2 separate regions of the Homo sapiens genome follow, and region 2 is linked to region 1. Evidence: promoter capture Hi-C in human tissues and cell types (Jung and others, 2019). All regions are on one chromosome and are shown on one strand. Each heading gives the region's core, a stretch centred on a gene start or on the middle of the fragment in contact. The rest is flanking DNA. Distances are from core to core; before and after follow the strand shown.

Region 1 (4,709 bases), core at 713-3,212:
TCGGAGTCTCGCTCTGTCGCCCAGGCTGGAGTGCAGTGGTGCCATCTCGGCTCATTGTAACCTCTGCCTCCCAGGTTCAAGTGATTCAAGCCATTCTTGTGCCTCTGCCTCCTGAGTAGCTGGGATTATAGGCGCACACCACCACACCTGGCGAATTTTTTTTTTTTTTTTTTTTTGAGGCTGAGTCTCACTCTATCGCCCAGGCTGGAGTGCAATGGAGCAATCTCGGCTCACTGCAACCTCCGCCTCCTGGGTTCAAGCGATCCTCCTGTCTCAGCTTCCTGATTAGCTGGGATTACAGGCGCCCTCCACCACACCCAGTTAATTTTTCTATTTTTAGTGGAGACGGTGTTTCACCATGTTGGCCAGGCTGGTCTCAAACTCCTGACCTCAAGTGATCCGCCCACCTCAGCTTCCCAAAGTGCTGGGATTACAAGCGTGAGCCACCACGCCCAGCCAGGAAACCCATTTTCAACACCTCCTTGCTCTTTTTTTTTTCTGAGACAGAGTCTCGCTCTGTCGCCCAGACTGGAGTGCAGTGGCGCAATCTCGGCTCACTGCAACCTCCGCCTGCCAGGTCAAACAATTCTCCTGCCTCAGCCTCCCAAGTAGGTGGGACTACAGGCATGTGCCACCACACCCGGCTAATTTTCTTTTGTATTTTTAGTAGAGACGGGGTTTCACCATGCTGGCCAGGCTGGTCTCGAACTCCTGACCTCGTGATCCGCCCGCCTCGGCCTCCCAAAGTGCTGGGATTACAAACGTGAGCCACCGCGCCTGGCCTTCCTTGCTCTTCTTGCTCCAAATCCTGGGAACGTCTGAATCAACAGGCGGACATCTGTCAAACCTTCCTAGCAACTACGCCTGCGGATGGCCAACCTGACCCTGGAAGACAGTGGGGTTTAGTTAAGCACAGATTGTACATCGGGGGCCTCATAAGGCGCCTGGAAGCATTCAAGAACACCACGCTTGTAAGGACAAAGCACTCGGTCACGGGCGCCTTTACTTCGGAGCTCCGCGCTGCTGCTGGACGAGCGTCCGTTGAGTCCCAGCCCCAATTTTTCCAGGAAATGGCGGTGAGCCCTCTAGTGAGATATTTTTTGGCCTGGGCCTCAGTTTCTCCATCTGTCAATGGGGGAAGGGGAAGGCGGGCTAGAGGACCCCGACCAGGTCGGCTGCAGCCTTCGGAAGCTACGGCCCAGGGACGCCACACCAAGGCAGGTCTGCGGGACGAAAGAACCCAAGAACCCGGGCGCGCATTGGCGCCGGTCCCGGGCTCAAGGGGCAGCAACGAGGAGACGCTGGACCTGGCCGTTCCTCGCACACATCTCTAACCTTCTGTGCCTCTCAAGGGAGATGGGGTGAGCATAGCCACCTCCACTGGAGCCCGAAAATCCCCGGCCGAGATACCGCCACTAAAAAGGTACACATGCGTCAAAGCCTCTCGGAGCCATTTCCGCTAACGTACTCAGGGCGACGGGCGTAAGATGGCGGCCGCGCAGGCGCAAAATGTCGCAGCCGTAGGGAGGCTCCGCCTCTGACGCTTGCCTTGCATCACGTGGTAATGGCCGCTCAAAAAACGCCTTAGCGAAAACCAGAGCGTGCCCTCGTCACGTGATGGAGGACTCCCAGTACGGCAAAGGGAAGGCGCCAAAAGTTGTCAGATGGCGAAGGAAACCGCGAAATTCGCCATTGTCACATGATGGAGCAACCTATCGAAAGCGGAGGGAAAGGTGCCGAAGTCACGTGACTACGCACGCAAACACTCCCGCTTGCACCACGTGCAACTCACGCCCACCCCCTCAGCCCCCCCCTTATCTCTTTTCGCCCCTCCCTCCCATTTGGGTTGGGCCTGCGTCGAGGCGCAACGCGGCGTCAAAGGGGGCGGGGCTTCAGCCGGTCACGTGTTCCCGCACCTCCCCGGCGCGCGCCTGCCCGCCCGCCCGCTCGCCCCCGGTCCGGACTCCTCCTCCTCCTCTTCTCGCCATTGCAGTTGGACCCAGCAGCCCGGCGCGCACCGCGTGGCTTTTGGGGGCAGACCCCGGCGGGCTGTGGCAGGAGGGCGGCGGCGGCGGCTGCGGTCGAAGAAGGGGACGCCGACAAGGTAAGCGTCAATGTGGCGGCGGCCGGGCCCGCTCCCGCCTCTGCCCCTCCCCCCGCCCGCCCTCAGTGAGATCCCCACTGAGGGTTCGCGGTGACAAGGCTGGAGGGATCCCACGCTCGCCGCCTCCGCCCGGTTCCCTCATCCCGGCGCCTGGCCCGTTCCTCCCTTGCCGGCCTCGCTCCCGCGCTCGGCCGTTAACTCTCTTCCATTGTGCGGAGGAAACAAAATGGCGGCTGCGGCGGCGGCGAGGACTCGGTGCGCGCGCAGCCGCTCCCCCCCGCACGCGGCCCCTCGGCCGGCGGCGGCGCCACGCGCGGGGGGGTGCGCGCGCACCGGGCCCCCGGCTGCCGCCTCCCCGCGGCTGGGCTTTTGTCTGTTGCGGGGGTCCTGGGGACGCGCGCACGTGCTTGGAGCACACACCCCCTCGGGTCCCGAGTTCCGCGGCGGGGCGACCCCCCTTCCTCACTCCTTCCCTACCCCCTCCTCCTCTTTGTCCCGGTCCCGCCCCCGATTCCAGGAGAGTCCCAGGTTCCCGAGGCGGGAAAAGTCGCCTCCTTTGTCCTCACAGGTCGCGGAGAGGCGGACCCCCTCCTTGGAAGCCCCTTCCCACGCGGATTGCTGAGGAAGCCTTTGTGGGTTCGTCGGGTTTCCAAATCTCTGGTCAGCCAGGCCTCTCTCAGATCAGGGTCAAAACTTGAGAGGGTTTCAGCTTTTTCTTTAGTTAGTTTGTTTTCATTGTTGAATGTTTTTCCAGATTGTTAGTATTTGCCTTCTCTAGACCGGCAATCTACTTGGGTGCAAGCCTGGGCCCCGAAACGTGGATGCTTAAAACCCATTTCTACCTTTATTTTCTCAAGTAGTTGAACGATTGAGATTCTCGAGGTTACTCATGAGGTTCTGCCCCAGTTAATTCACCGCCTGGATGAATTATTTGGGGTGTACGGCGGTCTGCATGCTCCTCCCCCAGTTCAGTGGCCAAATTTGAGGAGAATGAGGGATCTCTTCTCCACATTTCCAACATTGTTTGCCAGTTGCTGCTTAGGTGACATGGATCAGCAACGAAGCGTCGGTTTCAGTGGTTTCTTTTTCTGGACTCCGGTAATTCACTGCTGCTGAATCTTTTTCAAGATTTTGCTCTCTTTAAAATGAGTGGTGTGATGGCATATTTGTGGTCCACATGGAATCGCGAGGTGCCATCCGAAGTTAGGATTCAAATTTAGGACTTTAAGCTCTCTTTTCCTCAGGTATTTGTGGATGGGAATCTCCATGGATTGCTCAGAGTGCTGCCACTGTCCCTTGTGCGTGATGCTTTGTGTGTGGTCTCGTGGGATGTAGTTACAGTAGCCGCCCAGACTGTGAATGAAGTGTGGGAACCAGGGCCTCATTCACAGCTGGAAAGCAGGAGGAGGCCGCAGGACATTGGCAGGTGCTCCTCTCCCTGTTCCGTGGTGCTGGGGCCCCTTGCTTATGTGGGTGGCTCTTGGTCCCTGGGATTTGTGAATGGAGTCTGCAGGCCCCAGTGTTGTCTGGAATATTCTTTAGTTCAGATTGGAGGCTAGCAATGACTGCCAGGCTTGGCCTTGCCGCCACTGGGCGCTATTTATCACTCTCCCTATCTTCCTGGAGCTTAGCCGAGTCTTCCTGGAGCTGAGAGGTGCCTAATTGTTTGTGGTTTTTCTGATTGAACTTGTTTGGTGCCTCTAGGCAAAAATTCCTTTGGCTCCTTCTAGTATTTTCAGGGTCTTGAAGGCCCATATTCCTGAGCATGAGGAATCTAAGTCTGTTATTTTTTCCTAAATTTTCATGTTAAATACCACGTTGACAAAGGACAGCTGCTAATATTTTGATCACACAGATACAGACGGTGCTCCCTGGTTAAGGCCTCCAGGTAGGGGACAGGTAGAGTCAGTGATGGGGAAGAAGCCTTCTGTAAGTCCCTTTCCTTTGGGTAGACAGTAGATTACCCTTTAGGCTTTAGCAAGATGTGGGGGTTAGAAGTCTTCTATTCTTGGAAAAGCCTTTAGTCGTTTTCTTTGGGCTGGGGCCTCTTCTCTTAGGGACTGCTGTCACCCTTTCTCGGTTTCTTTTGATTACCTTTCATGGCCCCAGAGGAGTGATCCCTTCCCTTATTTATACCTCTTGGACTTGTCATCCTGCTACATTTTGTCAGCAAGTTAATTCACCTTGTGCAGTTTTGAAAGATGTGTAAGTGTTAACATTTAGTATTAGCATTTATGGCCCAGGAAATTGTGACCTTAATATTTGAATCTTGCTTTTATTAAACCTTTACAGGAACTAGGATTTTGTAGGGTTTTTTTTTTTTTTTTTTTTTTGAGTTAGAGTTTAGCTCTTGTTGCCCAGGCTGGAGTGCAATGGCGCGATCTCGGCTCACCGCAACCTCCACCTCCCGAGTTCAAGCGATTCTCCTGCCTCAGCCTCCCGAGTAGCTGGAATTACAGGCATGCTCCACTACACCTAGCTAATTTTGCATTTTTACTAGAGATGGGGCTTCTCCATGTTGGTCAGGCTGGTCTCGAACTCCGAACCTCAGGTGATCCACCGGCCTCGGTCTCCCAGAGTTGTGGGATTACAGGCGTGAGCCACC
Region 2 (4,709 bases), core at 1,313-3,812, 440 kb after region 1:
AAAAATAAGAAAATTAGCCGGGCGTAGTGGCATGCACCTGTAATCTCAGCTACTCGGGAAGCTGAGGCATGAGAATCGCTTGAACCTGGGAGCAGGATGTTGCAGTGAACCGATATCACACCACTGCACTCCAGCCTGGGTGACAGAGCAAGACTCTGTCTCAAAAAAAAAAAGAAAAAAAAATCCAGTGATACTTACTTTTTAAATTTTTATTTACTTATTTTTTGCTTTAAGTTGAATCTTTAAACTTATCTTTATTTTTGAGACACAGTCTCACTCTGTCGCCCAGGCTGGAGTGCAGTGGTACAACCACAGCTCAGTGCAGCGTTGACCTCCTGGGCTCAAGCCATCCTCCCGCCTCAGCCTCCCGAGTAGCTGGGACTACAGGCGCACACAACCATGTCCAGCTTATTTTTGTATTTTTTGTAGAGACAGGGTCCCACTGTGTTGCCCTGGCTTGTTCTGAACTCCTAGGCTCAAGTGATCCCCCCGCCTCACCCTCCCAAAGTGCTGGGATTACAGGCATGAGCCACCACATCCAGACTTCACTTTTTTGTTTAATGTCGCAAATGGCATAAGGAATGGGATTCAATGGGGACACATTTATAAACGTTGCAGCAGCTCCTAGAACTTGCCTATCCTTGTAAACTTCTCTAGGTGATTGCTAATTACTTCTTTTTTTTTTTTTTTTTTTGAGACGGAGTCTCACTCTGTCGCCCAGGCTGGAGTACAGTGGCGCAATCTCGTCTCACTGCAAACTCCACCTCCCGGGTTCACGCCATTCTCCTGCCTCAGCCTCCCGAGTAGCTGGGACTACAGGCACCCGCCACCACGCCCGGCTAATTTTTTGTATTTTTTTTTAGTAGAGGTGGGGTTTCACTGTGTTATCCAGGATGGTCTTGATCTCCTGACCTCGTGATCCACCTGCCTCAGCCTCCCAAAGTGCTGGGATTACAGGCGTGAGCCACCATGCCCAGCCCGCTAATTATTTCAATTTGACCTTGACACTGAGCCTGCCAAGTAGGTTCAAGCATTTTGATGGCCCCTTTACAGGTTGGGAAAGCTAATTTATCTGTCCAAGGCCGAATTCTGAAACTGAGTCTTAACTGCCAAAAATTCTTATCATCAATTTCTTCTTCTGGGTTGGGCACAGTGGCTCATGCCTGTAAAGCCAGCAATTTGAGAGGCATCATGATGCAAGAGGAAGAGGATTGAGTGAAGCTAGGAGTTTGGGACCAGCCTGGGCAACATAGTGAGACCCCATCTATAAAAAAAAATTAAAAATTAGTTGGGCATGGTGGTGCACTCCTGTGGTCCTAGCTATTCAGGAGGCTGAGGTGGGAGGATTCCTTGAGCCCAGGGTTGACGCTGCAGAGAGCTGTGATCACGCCACTGCAGTCCAGCCTGAGTGACAGCTGGAAATAATGATAAATAAATAATAAATAATTATTTAAAAAATTATAATAAAAATAATTAAAAAATTATTTTCCCTGATTAATCTTTTTTTTTGTCCTTCTGAGAGTTCAATTTGTCCCTTTTCTGCCTGGTCTCCTAGGTTTCCCTAAAATCCTGCTGAGAGGTTAGCACTGCCTGCCAAAGTCAGTTTGCAAAATCCCAGAGAAATCCAGCTTATTCCTGGGGGAACCGCCAAGACTGCCCAGCCCTGTGTGGGGTTCAGGCAAGTTTCTCACATGTGCCTTTTTGGCAAGAGGCCTCTGGCAACCCCATGAGTCCCCAAAGAGACTCAATTCTAAAAGTTGGTCTCCACCAGCTCTCTGTGGCTTAGGGGTTCAAGTTCAACTGTGAAAGCCCTGTTTTGTTTTGATTTTGCTTTGAGGGAGAGGAAACCGCCCTTCTGTTTGTTCAACTCCTTCTCCTAAGGGGAGAAATCAATATTTACGTCCAGACTCCAGGTATCCGTACAATTGATTTTTCAGATGTTTATACTCAGCCAAAGGCGGGATCCCACAAAACAAAAAATATTTTTTTGGCTGTACTTTTGTGAAGATTTTATTTAAATTCCTGATTGATCAGTGTCTATTAGGTGATTTGGAATAACAATGTAAAAACAATATACAACGAAAGGAAGCTAAAAATCTATACACAATTCCTAGAAAGGAAAAGGCAAATATAGAAAGTGGCGGAAGTTCCCAACATTTTTAGTGTTTTCCTTTTGAGGCAGAGAGGACAATGGCATTAGGCTATTGGAGGATCTTGAAAGGCTGTTGTTATCCTTCTGTGGACAACAACAGCAAAATGTTAACAGTTAAACATCGAGAAATTTCAGGAGGATCTTTCAGAAGATGCGTTTCCAATTTTGAGGGGGCGTCAGCTCTTCACCGGAGACCCAAATACAACAAATCAAGTCGCCTGCCCTGGCGACACTTTCGAAGGACTGGAGTGGGAATCAGAGCTTCACGGGTTAAAAAGCCGATGTCACATCGGCCGTTCGAAACTCCTCCTCTTGCAGTGAGGTGAAGACATTTGAAAATCACCCCACTGCAAACTCCTCCCCCTGCTAGAAACCTCACATTGAAATGCTGTAAATGACGTGGGCCCCGAGTGCAATCGCGGGAAGCCAGGGTTTCCAGCTAGGACACAGCAGGTCGTGATCCGGGTCGGGACACTGCCTGGCAGAGGCTGCGAGCATGGGGCCCTGGGGCTGGAAATTGCGCTGGACCGTCGCCTTGCTCCTCGCCGCGGCGGGGACTGCAGGTAAGGCTTGCTCCAGGCGCCAGAATAGGTTGAGAGGGAGCCCCCGGGGGGCCCTTGGGAATTTATTTTTTTGGGTACAAATAATCACTCCATCCCTGGGAGACTTGTGGGGTAATGGCACGGGGTCCTTCCCAAACGGCTGGAGGGGGCGCTGGAGGGGGGCGCTGAGGGGAGCGCGAGGGTCGGGAGGAGTCTGAGGGATTTAAGGGAAACGGGGCACCGCTGTCCCCCAAGTCTCCACAGGGTGAGGGACCGCATCTTCTTTGAGACGGAGTCTAGCTCTGTCGCCCAGGATGGAGTGCAGTGGCACGATCTCAGCTCACTGCAACCTCCGCCTCCCGGGTTTAAGCGAGTCTCCTCTCTCAGCCTCCCGAATAGCTGGGATTACAGGCGCCCAACCACCACGCCCGCCTAATTTTTGTATTTTTAGTAGAGACGGGTTTTCACCATTTTGGCCAGGCTGGTCTCGAACCCCGACCTCAGGTGATCTGCCCAAAAGTGCTGGGATTACAGGCGTCAGCCACCGCGCCCGGCCGGGACCCTCTCTTCTAACTCGGAGCTGGGTGTGGGGACCTCCAGTCCTAAAACAAGGGATCACTCCCACCCCCGCCTTAAGTCCTTCTGGGGGCGAGGGCGACTGGAGACCCGGATGTCCAGCCTGGAGGTCACCGCGGGCTCAGGGGTCCCGATCCGCTTTGCGCGACCCCAGGGCGCCACTGCCATCCTGAGTTGGGTGCAGTCCCGGGATTCCGCCGCGTGCTCCGGGACGGGGGCCACCCCCTCCCGCCCCTGCCCCCGCCCCTTTGGCCCGCCCCCCGAATTCCATTGGGTGTAGTCCAACAGGCCACCCTCGAGCCACTCCCCTTGTCCAATGTGAGGCGGTGGAGGCGGAGGCGGGCGTCGGGAGGACGGGGCTTGTGTACGAGCGGGGCGGGGCTGGCGCGGAAGTCTGAGCCTCACCTTGTCCGGGGCGAGGCGGATGCAGGGGAGGCCTGGCGTTCCTCCGCGGTTCCTGTCACAAAGGCGACGACAAGTCCCGGGTCCCCGGAGCCGCCTCCGCGACATACACGAGTCGCCCTCCGTTATCCTGGGCCCTCCTGGCGAAGTCCCCGGTTTCCGCTGTGCTCTGTGGCGACACCTCCGTCCCCACCTTGTCCTGGGGGGCGCCCTCGCCCCACCAGCCCCGATCAAGTTCACAGAGGGGCCCCCGGCCACCCTCAAGGCCTCGGTTCCTTACGAGGTTGAAACGTTGCCTCAGAATCTCCCCGCCCCTCCTTGGTCTGCAGCCGAGATCTTCAGCCACGGTGGGGCAGCTATCCCCCGGGACCGACCCCCTGGGGTGGCCTCGCTTCTTCAGAGGCTGTGAATGGCTTCGGTTCAGCTGTCCAAGCGGCGATTTTTCCTCTGGGTGAAATGGATTAGATTTTAGATTTCCACAAGAGGCTGGTTAGTGCATGATCCTGAGTTAGAGCTTTTTAGGTGGCTTTAAATTAGTTGCAGAGAGACAGCCTCGCCCTAGACAACAGCTACATGGCCCTTTCCCTCCTGAGAACCAGCCTAGCCTAGAAAAGGATTGGGATTGCCTGATGAACACAAGGATTGCAGGAAACTTTTTTTTTAATTGGCAAGGGGGTTGGCTTTGACTGGATGGAGAGCTTTGAACTGCCTTGAAATTCACGCTGTAACTAACACACCAGTTTCCTCTGGGAGGCCAGAGAGGGAGGGAGGGTGTAATGAAATACGGATGATTGTTCTTTTATTTTTATTTACTTATTTATTTTTTAACTTTTTGTAGAGATGAGGTCTCGCTTGGTTGCTCAGGCTGGTCTTGAACTCCTGGCCTCAAGCGATCCTCCTACCTCAGCCTCCCAAAGTGTTGGGATTACAGGAGTGAGCCACCGCGCCCCACCGGGGATGATGATGATTGCAAACATTCTGCCACTCAGTTTTACAAAAGAAAGAGAGGCACTGGATTAATGTGTATCTCACTCACC

The links. Contacts are between HindIII fragments. The study calls those that stand out against the background at their distance.
Region 2: a contact is called between the fragment with the promoter of LDLR here and the fragment with the promoter of ILF3 in region 1, in 1 of the 25 tissues and cell types used here (pancreas).

What each region holds. Positions count from the first base shown.
Region 1 is chr19:10,652,384-10,657,092 of GRCh38, forward strand. It overlaps ILF3 (interleukin enhancer binding factor 3), which reads left to right and starts at 1,963. Exons shown (of 20, transcript NM_017620.3): 1 at 1,963-2,104. ILF3-DT (ILF3 divergent transcript) reads right to left here and starts at 1,489. Exons shown (of 1, transcript NR_024333.1): 1 at 1-1,489. RefSeq lists enhancers at 1-473, 474-975, 841-1,010, 1,251-1,720 and silencers at 1,811-2,050, 2,131-2,290. The HindIII fragment of the contact is 14,146 bases long and covers 1-4,709 here.
Region 2 is chr19:11,086,901-11,091,609 of GRCh38, forward strand. LDLR (low density lipoprotein receptor) reads left to right here and starts at 2,563. Exons shown (of 18, transcript NM_000527.5): 1 at 2,563-2,715. The coding sequence starts at 2,649. It overlaps LDLR-AS1 (LDLR antisense RNA 1), which reads right to left and starts at 2,759. Exons shown (of 1, transcript NR_163945.1): 1 at 2,168-2,759. RefSeq lists enhancers at 2,817-3,412, 3,413-4,006, 3,724-3,903, 4,600-4,709 and a silencer at 3,394-3,653. The HindIII fragment of the contact is 22,999 bases long and covers 1-4,709 here.